Regions from separate parts of the Homo sapiens genome. Here region 2 is linked to region 1. Evidence: promoter capture Hi-C in human tissues and cell types (Jung and others, 2019). All regions are on one chromosome and are shown on one strand. The core of a region is centred on a gene start or on the middle of the fragment in contact, and the rest is flanking DNA. Distances in the headings are between cores, read along the strand shown.

Region 1 (4,555 bases), core at 784-3,283:
AACAGGGTTCAGGTAGGGAGGAAAAGGAAAGAAAATAGGGAAGAATAGTATAATTTTGGTGAAGGGACTGAGGATAGGAAGGGGAACGTGGGCTATGAGCCAGAAATAAAAAATATAAAAATTTAAAAAGTAGATTCAAGGTCAACCCATGAAGATCCTTGAGTGAGCTTGGATGTTATTCTGAAGCTAATGGACCAGGTAACGGTAATTTTCCTGGAAAATTCAGGGAAGAGTGTTTCAGGAAATCTCTATTAGGTTCTTGCTTTCTGCATTCTATACTCCTCTTGGAATCGGCGTTCTAACAACTGCAAACCTGCCCATAGGCAGGTGAACTTGAAAACCCTGGAGACAAATTATTAGAGGGGCTTGGGTTGGCTGTTGTGTATCAAGAGGGCACAGCAACTCTGGGGTGCTTCGACACTTCCCCAAAGTAGTGAAAGATCAGTTCTAACTCTTAGAAAAATAGAAAACCATTACTGAGAAGGAATAATTTGCATGTGAACACACTCTATTTGTGTTTTCACACAATGCTTATGTGTTCGTGTGTGTTAAATATGTTAGATTCAAAAATTAAGCCTGAGAAAAACCAGGAAACAGAAGAATTACTGTAGCTCAGAAGTATGAGTAGTCTGGTCTACAGGACAGCAAAAACATATCTGATGGCTTCTACAGACTAAAGTTCCAAGCCACTAGGTATATCCACTCACACAGCCTTCTCTCCTGTGCGTTTGTATGGCCGCTTCTCAGGAATGCTGGTGAGAAGCCCATGATATAACCAATATGAAAATGTTCCACCACTGTAGTATTCTAGATATTTGAAAAGACAATGGATGAGAATGAAAATGATGCATATACAATAATATTAATGTTAAAAGTAAACAATACTACAGGTGGTGATAAGGGCTATTAAAATATAAAAGAGTTCAATAGGAAGAGAAATGAATGGATGTTTGCCTTTTCAAAGAGGGTGGGTTTGTAAATGCCAGGAAATCCAGTTTCCTTTAGGGATTATTCACGGGCCTCACCATCTTCTCTTCTCAAGGCATTTAAATAACAGGATCCACTTTAATAAAAAATGTCAAACTCCTCCCGCCTTCACTAGCAGCCAGAAAAGCACGCGTATGGTCCATACTATACAATTTAGCCACGAATGACACCTGCTTTGCTTTGTTTTCTATTGTGTTAGGCGTCAGCCTCGTGTGCTCAGATAGATCTTAAGCTCCTTGAAGGCAAGAAAGAACCCGGTCCCAGACTGCGTCCGACACACAGAATGCTCGTAGGAAGCACAGGCTGATTTATGGAAAATACAGCAAGGGTCTTCAATTTCGAACTACAGCTCCGCCTTGGAGATGCTTTCCGCAGCCCGCGGGCCGCCCACGGGGGGCACTGTCTAGCTCCCCTCGCCCCTCAGCCGCTCTCCGTCGGTGCTGTTCCCCGCTGCGGCCGGGAGGAGGCGCCACGGACTCGGGCTAAGCTTCTTCCCCCTTCCGTCCCCCTTCCATCCACCTTACCACCCCACTTCCCCAGCACATGACGTGGGAAGCTGCCTCCGCCAGAGTCTTAGCAAGAGGAGTGAGGGGGTGCAGGGGCTTGGGGGTGGGGTGGGGTGGGGGGTGTGGAGAAAGAGGACACGCGCGCTCACACCCGCCCCTGGGAGCAGAAGCAGTATCTTCCCCAGCTTCGTGGGTTTCTCCTCCCCCCGGAGTCAGGGTGTGCGAGGTAGGGGGTGTGTGTGTGTCTGTGTGTGTGTGCGCGGCACGTTTTTGAGTGTGAGACCCAAATCCAGACCAGGCAACCTGCGTTCCCCGCGCCTCCCCCCGTCCCCGGTGATTAATACCCATTTTTCTGACGCTCCCCTCCTCCCCTCCTGCTCTCCCTCTCCGGCTGCCGCGCGGTTGACTTGCACAGCCTGCCCCCGCCCGCTTCCCTTCCCCCGGCTCCGATCCTCACCAACTGGAATCTGGGCTCCTGCCTCTCCACCCCCCACCTCTTTTTGAGAAAGGAAGGTTCCCCCCACCCCCTTTCAAAAACCACTTCCTCCGGCTTCTTCACCTCTAGGAAATCTCGGGGCTTCGCTCTATCGAGAGTGCTCGTCAAGGGTGATTCTTGATCACCACCATCCAGTAGTGCTGGCGTCCGAATGCATATCCTTTTGCCTTGCAAAGAAGAGTCATGAACTTCAAAACCCCCGAGACGGATCATTAATCCTGCTTTGCAGGAAAGGAAAACCCTCCATTCCCAGCCACCGGCCACCCCTCTCCGCAGACTGCAACCGCGGAGGCGCTCGGAGCCGGTACGTAAAGATGGGCTTTGGAGTCTCTCCTTTGAATGTAGGGGTTTGGGGGTGTCAGGCAGATAAAGGGTCGAAGCCGTGAAATCGTGAACGAATCTGGCATGAGGTAAAGCTCTGAAATCCAGCAGAACCCGGCACTTGCTAATTTGGACGTGGCTTTTTTAAAGGTTTTTTTTTTTTGTGGGGGAGGGGGTGCTGTGACTGGGTAGGGCTGTCTCTGGTCTTTTGGGGGGTTTCATCCCTTCACCTAGCAGAGGGGCAGGGCAGCGGCGCCCCGGGCCGGACCCACGCGCCGAGCCCATCCGTCCAATCGACACGTTGCAGGTGAAGCCCCGTGCGCTGCACCTCAGCGCGGCGGCAGCGTGAGTGTGCGCGGGGGTGAGTGTGCGCGGGGGTGAGTGTGAGTGCGCGCGGGGCGCGTGCGCGTCGGGGGCGTGTGTGCGCGCGTCAGTGTGCCCCTTCCAAGAAATGCCCAGTGTGCACCCCGTGCACAATCAGAACCCATTCAGCACAAGCCCGGGGTGGGAGGCGGCGCTGCTGCTGGAGGCGATGGGGAGAGCGAGCGAGACAAGTCAGCAGCAATGCAGATGGGGCTGGGGGCCGCACTCGCTGGCGAGTTAAGTGGGAATTGTGTTTCTGCGTGTGTGTGAGTGTGTGTTGCTGTATGGTGCCGCTTCTCCCCCCCTTCCTCCTTCCTTCCCACTTCCCTCCTTCGCTCGCTCCCTCCCTCTCTCCTCTTCCATTCAGGTTGGCTTTCCCACCTCTCATCCGTGCCTGTCCCAGGAATGGTATAGCCAGACCTTTTCTGAATTATTTATAGACCGGTACCAGCTGTTTTCAATTCCTCTCGTGTGCACTCTGTGGGAAATGCGGGGTTTCCTCCCCCCTTTCCTTAAAACGAATTGATATCTTTTTCGGAATGCATTTTTCTCACCCTCCGGGGGACACGCGAATCAAGCCCTGACCGCCTCTTTTTCCCCCTTAGGAAGGGGACGCTTTGGGAATGACCATGCTCCACCGAGGGACGGAGCCGGCCCCCAGCTTCTCCACACAGAGCCTCCTCCACTAACGCTCCAAAAACCAAAAACCGTAATTGCCAGAAGAAGCGTTAAAAATCTATTCCAGCCACTAACCTCACATGCACACGGAATAATTACTCTGGATTCTGCATTGTGAGCTGCTCTCCATACCCTGAATTACCTTTGAATTAAATCTTTTTTTTTTTGAATTTGCATCTCTTCAAGACACAAGATTAAAACAAAATTTACGCTAAATTGGATTTTAAATTATCTTCCGTTCATTTATCCTTCGTCTTTCTTATGTGGATATGCAAGCGAGAAGAAGGGACTGGACATTCCCAACATGCTCACTCCCTTAATCTGTCCGTCTAGAGGTTTGGCTTCTACAAACCAAGGTAGGGCAAATTCTATTTTATTTTTTCCTCACCTGGGGTAGGGATTCCTCATTTTATCTATCTCTTCGAGTCCCTCAAGTGGATCTTTTTGGAAGAAAAGGTCACAAGATATGAAAATAATGCTGTTTTGGGAAAAAAGGCTTATTACAAAGAAGGAAATCTCCCATGTTTTTTCTTTTTCTTCTCTCATCTAACAGGTTTTGGGCTTTTGGGGGGCAGTGGGGGTGGATGTATGCAGGCACAAAAGATGTTGGATGGCATCAGGGGAATGTATCTATATCTATAGACATAGCCAGCCAGGAGACCTGTGTGATTTTCCAGTTAAATAGCATTTTATTCACCCAGAACTAAAGCTCCGATTTTTATGGGAATCTAGAAATCCTTTTTTTTTTTTTTTTTCAGGTTGGCTTTATTCCCCTTGTCACCTTCATGCCTCTCTCCCTGTCTCCTGTCTTTACCTTTCTAGGCATCCTTTCTATGCCCTTTAAAACAGATAAAAATAATGATTGAGATTACTGTGATTGTTGCCCTGAAATCCACTTGCTGTCTAAAGGGTTGACAAGGGGCCCAGAGATCCCGGGAGGCCTATTGCAGAGGGGTAGGTCTAGGTGGGGATCGGGCTGGTCTCAGAACACCTGGAATTGAAGGATGCTGCAGGTTAAACGACTTAAATCTTAAGCTCGGAAAGGAGGAATTCTGTCAATATTCTGCTTTTAATTTGTATTTTTTCCTGTGCTATTATTTTTGAGCTGTAAATTTCTCCTTCTGTCTACATATCTATTTATACCCACACATCCTCCAAGCAAACTGTTACTTCTACACTCTTGCAAAATGGCTATCTTGCAGAG
Region 2 (4,751 bases), core at 951-3,450, 730 kb after region 1:
CGGTCCAAGCTTGCACAGAATATGTGAAGCTGTCTAAATGGCCCCAGGAGGTGAGTTTACCCATTACTATACTCTGACTTATAATAGATTAACATCTCCAAGGTGACATATCTGTGAAAATAAACGAACCATTCTAACTCCACAGCTCTGTTAAATTAAGTTTGGCCTAAAGCTGTCTCTGTACATATTTTAAGTTTGGCCTAAATTTGCCTTTGACTTGTGTGGCAGCCCCTTGCTAATTGCCTGAACTTGGGCATGATTCTTACATTCTGAAAGCTTGTTTTCTTTTAAAATCAATCATGTGAAAGCAACAATAATAATTACAAAAGGAGCCATTCTTTGTACATAATGAACTGTAACCTAACTTGATGTGCATACGTAAACACACTGTAACCTACTCTTGTAAGAGGTAACTAAGTCTCAGCCAACCACAGGCAGCCAACTGTTCAAAGCAGGTTCAAATAAGGCAAATGCCCAGCTGTAGCCAATCCAGCTGTTTCTGTCCTCACTTCCGTTGTATGGCACTTTCCTTTTTCTGTGAATACCGGGAGTCGCTCTGAACCTATTCTGGTTCTGAGAGCTGCCCAATTCACGAATCTTTCTTTGCCCAATTAAACTCTGTTAAATTTGTCTAAAGTGTTTCTTTCCACAGCTCCTTCTGGTCCTCGACTTTTCTATCCATCCACCTAGCCATCCATAAGCTTTATCCTAATCCTAAACATGTGAGTTAAGCAGATGAATGAATATATAGATGTGGAAGAGAAACAGAAATAGAGAGAGATAGAGAAACATTGTGCGCATACAGAGAGAGAAACAGAGAGCATGTGTGTGTATCTATATATAGAGAGAGACAGAACATGTGAAGCAAGGGACAGGCAGCAAATGAGGAGATTTTGATTCAGGATTCTTAACCTTGAGTGTGTGGGGTCCATGAACATCTTAGGATTATATGCAAAGTGTCACATTTATATGCATTTTTCTGGGGAAAGAGTCCTTAGCTATCTTCAGATCCTCAAAAGTGCCTGTGTTCCTGACAAGATTAAGAATCACTGATTTCAATAAAGTATAAAATAGTGCACACACCAGTTATCTTCTCCTTCTTTCGTGTGGGACCACTGCCTACACAATCTATGTTCTTCCTTTTGGTCAAAAAGTGAAAGAAGACAAATAAGAAGGCCAGGTCATCAAGAGACATTAAGAGTATCTTTGGAACTCACTGACACGTTCTTTGTTACTTTCAATAGTTAATGCACGATATACTAGATGTTAACTCAAACATGGTCAAGGGGACCAGGCACGGTGGCTCATGCCTGTAATCTCAGCACTTCAGGAGTCCAAGGCGGGAGGATCACTTGAGGTCAGGAGTTCCAGAACAGCCTGACCAACATGGTGAAACCCTGTTTCTATTAAAAATACAAAAATTAGCCAGGTGTCATGGTGGGCACCTGTAATCCCAGCTGCTCAGGAGGCTGAGGCATGAGAATCATTTGAACCCGGTAGGTGGAGGTTGCAGTGAGATGAGATCACACCACTGCACTCCAGCCTTGGCAACAGAGCAAGACCCTGTCTCAAAAATAAAAACAAACATGGTTAAGGGAAGAGGATCAACTTTTACTAAGGACCCACTATATGATAGGCACTTAATTTTTCTAACAACACTGTGCTATAGGTATTATTATTGTTGTTCTCATATGATTGATTTTAAAAGAAAACAAGCTTTTGGAATGTAAGCATCATGCCCAAGTTCAGGTATTTAGCAAGAGGCTGACTTGGCAAATCATTTCATGGTCTGTCATAATGAATATGGGTATGTGTGTACATGTGTTCTTGGGACAGAGTGACCAGGTAGATCCGCTAGCTCTGTTGCATCTCCGAAGCAACAAATATTTGTCGGGGGGTGGAGAGGAGAAGAAGCTCATTATTTGGAGATCAAATAACTCAATGCTGCTATTATTTCTAGCTCCTGATTCCCCTCCATTAATTTATCACCTTCTTCTATGAATTGCATTGAACAACTCTGTATGCTAGGCATTGGGTAGAGTCTAGAATATCATCTTGCAATATTGTCTCCAGTAGACCCATGGTCCATGCCATTGGAAGCTCACTGTCTAGGAGAGACCACAGGCATGTGAGTAAATCATTACAGTACTGTGGGACAGGGATTCAAATATAAGAATGTCCTGAGGCCGAGCGGTGGAATGAAGAAGCAGCTTGATGTTGCCAAGATGTTTCAACTGAACCTTAAAGAATGGGGAGAAATTCCCAGCAAACAATAGGTGATGGTTAATTTTATGTGTCAGTGTGGCTGGGCCACAGTGCCCAGATATTCGGTCAAACAATCTTCTGGATGTTTCTGTAAGGGTGTTTTCAGATGAGATTGACATTTAAATAGATGGACTTTGAGTAAAGCAAATTGCCCTCCTTAATGTGGGTGGGCCTCACTCAATTATCTGAATAGAGCAAAAGACTGATCTCCCTGAGCCGGAAGGAATCCTGCCAGCAGATGGCCTTCAGAAATGAACTGCAACATTGGCTCTGCCCTGGGTGTCCAGCCTGCTGGCCCATCCTGCAGATTTTGGACTTGACATAATTGCATGAACCTATTCCTTAAAATAAATCTATTTCTGGATATATACATATCCCATTGGTCTGTTTTCCTGGAGAACCCTGACTAATACATAGTGAAAGTAGGACTCTTCTAGGCAGAGGGAACAGCATGTACAAAGGCACAGAGACTCCAGAAACAATGATTCAGTTGAATCATAGTCCAGTCAGTTTATTGAATCTTGCTCTGGTGCCTGGTCTTATTGCCTGGCCTGATCACTCTATGCTTGCTCCCATAAATAGATCCTAGGAATATGATCTTTCTAGTCTGTTTGACCACCCCAGTGGTTTTGAAAATGCATAAACTGCTTATAGTTCCCTAAAGTAATGAGTCTCCAGGACCAGTAGTAACAGTTATCAGTTGGAAGATGCACAAGTTTTATCTGTCACCATGGCCGAGGTGTGCACAACTGCTACTGTTAGAAAACAACATAGGCTCCCGGACAACATATTGTTTTTTGCCACAATTTTATCATCAGTACCCCAGGGGATAATCTGTGTCAGTTAAGGTTCTCCAGAAAAATGGAACCAACAGGATAGGTGTGGGGAGATAGAGAGAGAGAGAGATTTTAAGAAATTGGCTCACGTGATTGTGGAAGCTTGGAAAGTCCAAAGTCTGCAGAGTAGGCCAGCAGACTGGAAACCAGGAAGAGTTGGAGTTCAAGTCCAAAGGCAATCTGCTGGCTGGGCGCAGTGGCTCATGCTTGTAATCCCAGCACTTTGGGAGGCGGGCAGATCACTTGAGGCCAGGAGTTCAAGACCAGCCTGGCCAACATAGTGAAACCCCATATCTACTAAAAATACAAAAATCCAGGCTGGCACGGTGGTGCATGCCCGTAACCCCAGCTACTCAGGTGTTCTGCATCATGCCTGTTCCCATTTGGTGTGCAGTCCATTTGTACAGAATTTTAACCATTGGTTTGTTCATTCATTTTTTTCATCCCATTCAAAGCAACTGTGTGACAGTGTATCCTTTTTATTTATTTTGCAGAATAACAAACTGTATGTTTTAGACCAAAGGATTTAGCTGGAAGAAGGAGGGAGGAGCGAGGCTTGGGGAGGTATGTATTCTGTCACTGACTTTGTATGGTGACCACTTATCATGTGCAAGTTGGAACGCAATGCCCAGTTTGAAGCTCATTATTTCTGATAGACCGCCTCTGAACTCTTGTAGCGGGAAATGGAGTTGCCTCTCAACATCCATTCTGACCTGTCCGCTATTCCTGCTGTGTAACAGCCCAGGTGTTTAGGTTGAATAGACCCCACTCCTAGTCTAAGGGTAAACCTTAATTGGAACCATTCACAGTGAATGATTCAGTGCCTGGCAACGAATTGAGGCATTAAGTTCATCAGTACATGTTAATCCTTTGGCCATGTGGGTGGGCACAAGATGCTAAAAAAAAAGTGATTGTGGGGAGCCTTCTTCTCCCCAGCCCTAGAAGAAGCATTAGTCTCTATTGCTGCTGGTAATCATTCCTTCCTTCATTCTTCTCTCTAGCCATGTTTTATTGGTGGCCTCTGTTCCAAGCAAAGTTTAGTTCTAAGTGCTGGGGGTACCAAGTCATTGTTATCCTGGATCTTACAATTTAGTGGAAGAGGCAGAAAATAAACAAACATCTAAATACATTATACACTGTGATGGTTACTTTTAGATGTCAACTTGGCTAGATTAAGGAATGCCTGGAGAACTGGTCAAGCATTCCTTCTTGGTGTGTCTGTGAGGGTGTTTCCAGAGATTAGCAGGTGAGTCAGTGGACTGAGGAGGGAAGACCTGCTCAGTGTGGGCAGACACCATCCAGTCAGCTGGAGGCCAGGATAGGACAAAGAATGAGAGAAAGGATTTCCTCTCTGTCTCTCCTGGAGCTGGGACACTCTCTTCCTCCTGCCTGAAGACAGCACAGCGCCAGACTCTTCAGCACTGGGACTCCATGACTTACACTAGCAGTCACCCAGGTTCTCAGGCCTTCAGCCTCAGACTGAGAGTGACATCACTGGCTTCCCTGGTTCTGAAGCTTTGGGACTTGGTTTGAACCATGCTACTGGCACCCCAGGGTCTCCAGCTTGCAGATAGCCTGTTATGACACTTCTAGGCTTCCATAATCACATGAGCCAATTCCCCTCGTAAATAACCTCTCATACCTATCTAT

What was found. Contacts are between HindIII fragments. The study calls those that stand out against the background at their distance.
Region 2: a fragment that was not itself captured here is called in contact with the fragment with the promoter of GRIN2B in region 1 in 1 of the 25 tissues and cell types used here (mesendoderm cells).

What each region holds. Positions count from the first base shown.
Region 1 is chr12:13,979,080-13,983,634 of GRCh38, reverse strand. It overlaps GRIN2B (glutamate ionotropic receptor NMDA type subunit 2B), which reads left to right and starts at 2,033. Exons shown (of 14, transcript NM_000834.5): 1 at 2,033-2,293; 2 at 3,279-3,707. The HindIII fragment of the contact is 12,156 bases long and covers 1-4,555 here.
Region 2 is chr12:13,250,223-13,254,973 of GRCh38, reverse strand. No RefSeq gene overlaps it. Among named protein-coding and RNA genes, the nearest start is that of EMP1, 56 kb to the right of the region's middle. The HindIII fragment of the contact is 3,421 bases long and covers 490-3,910 here.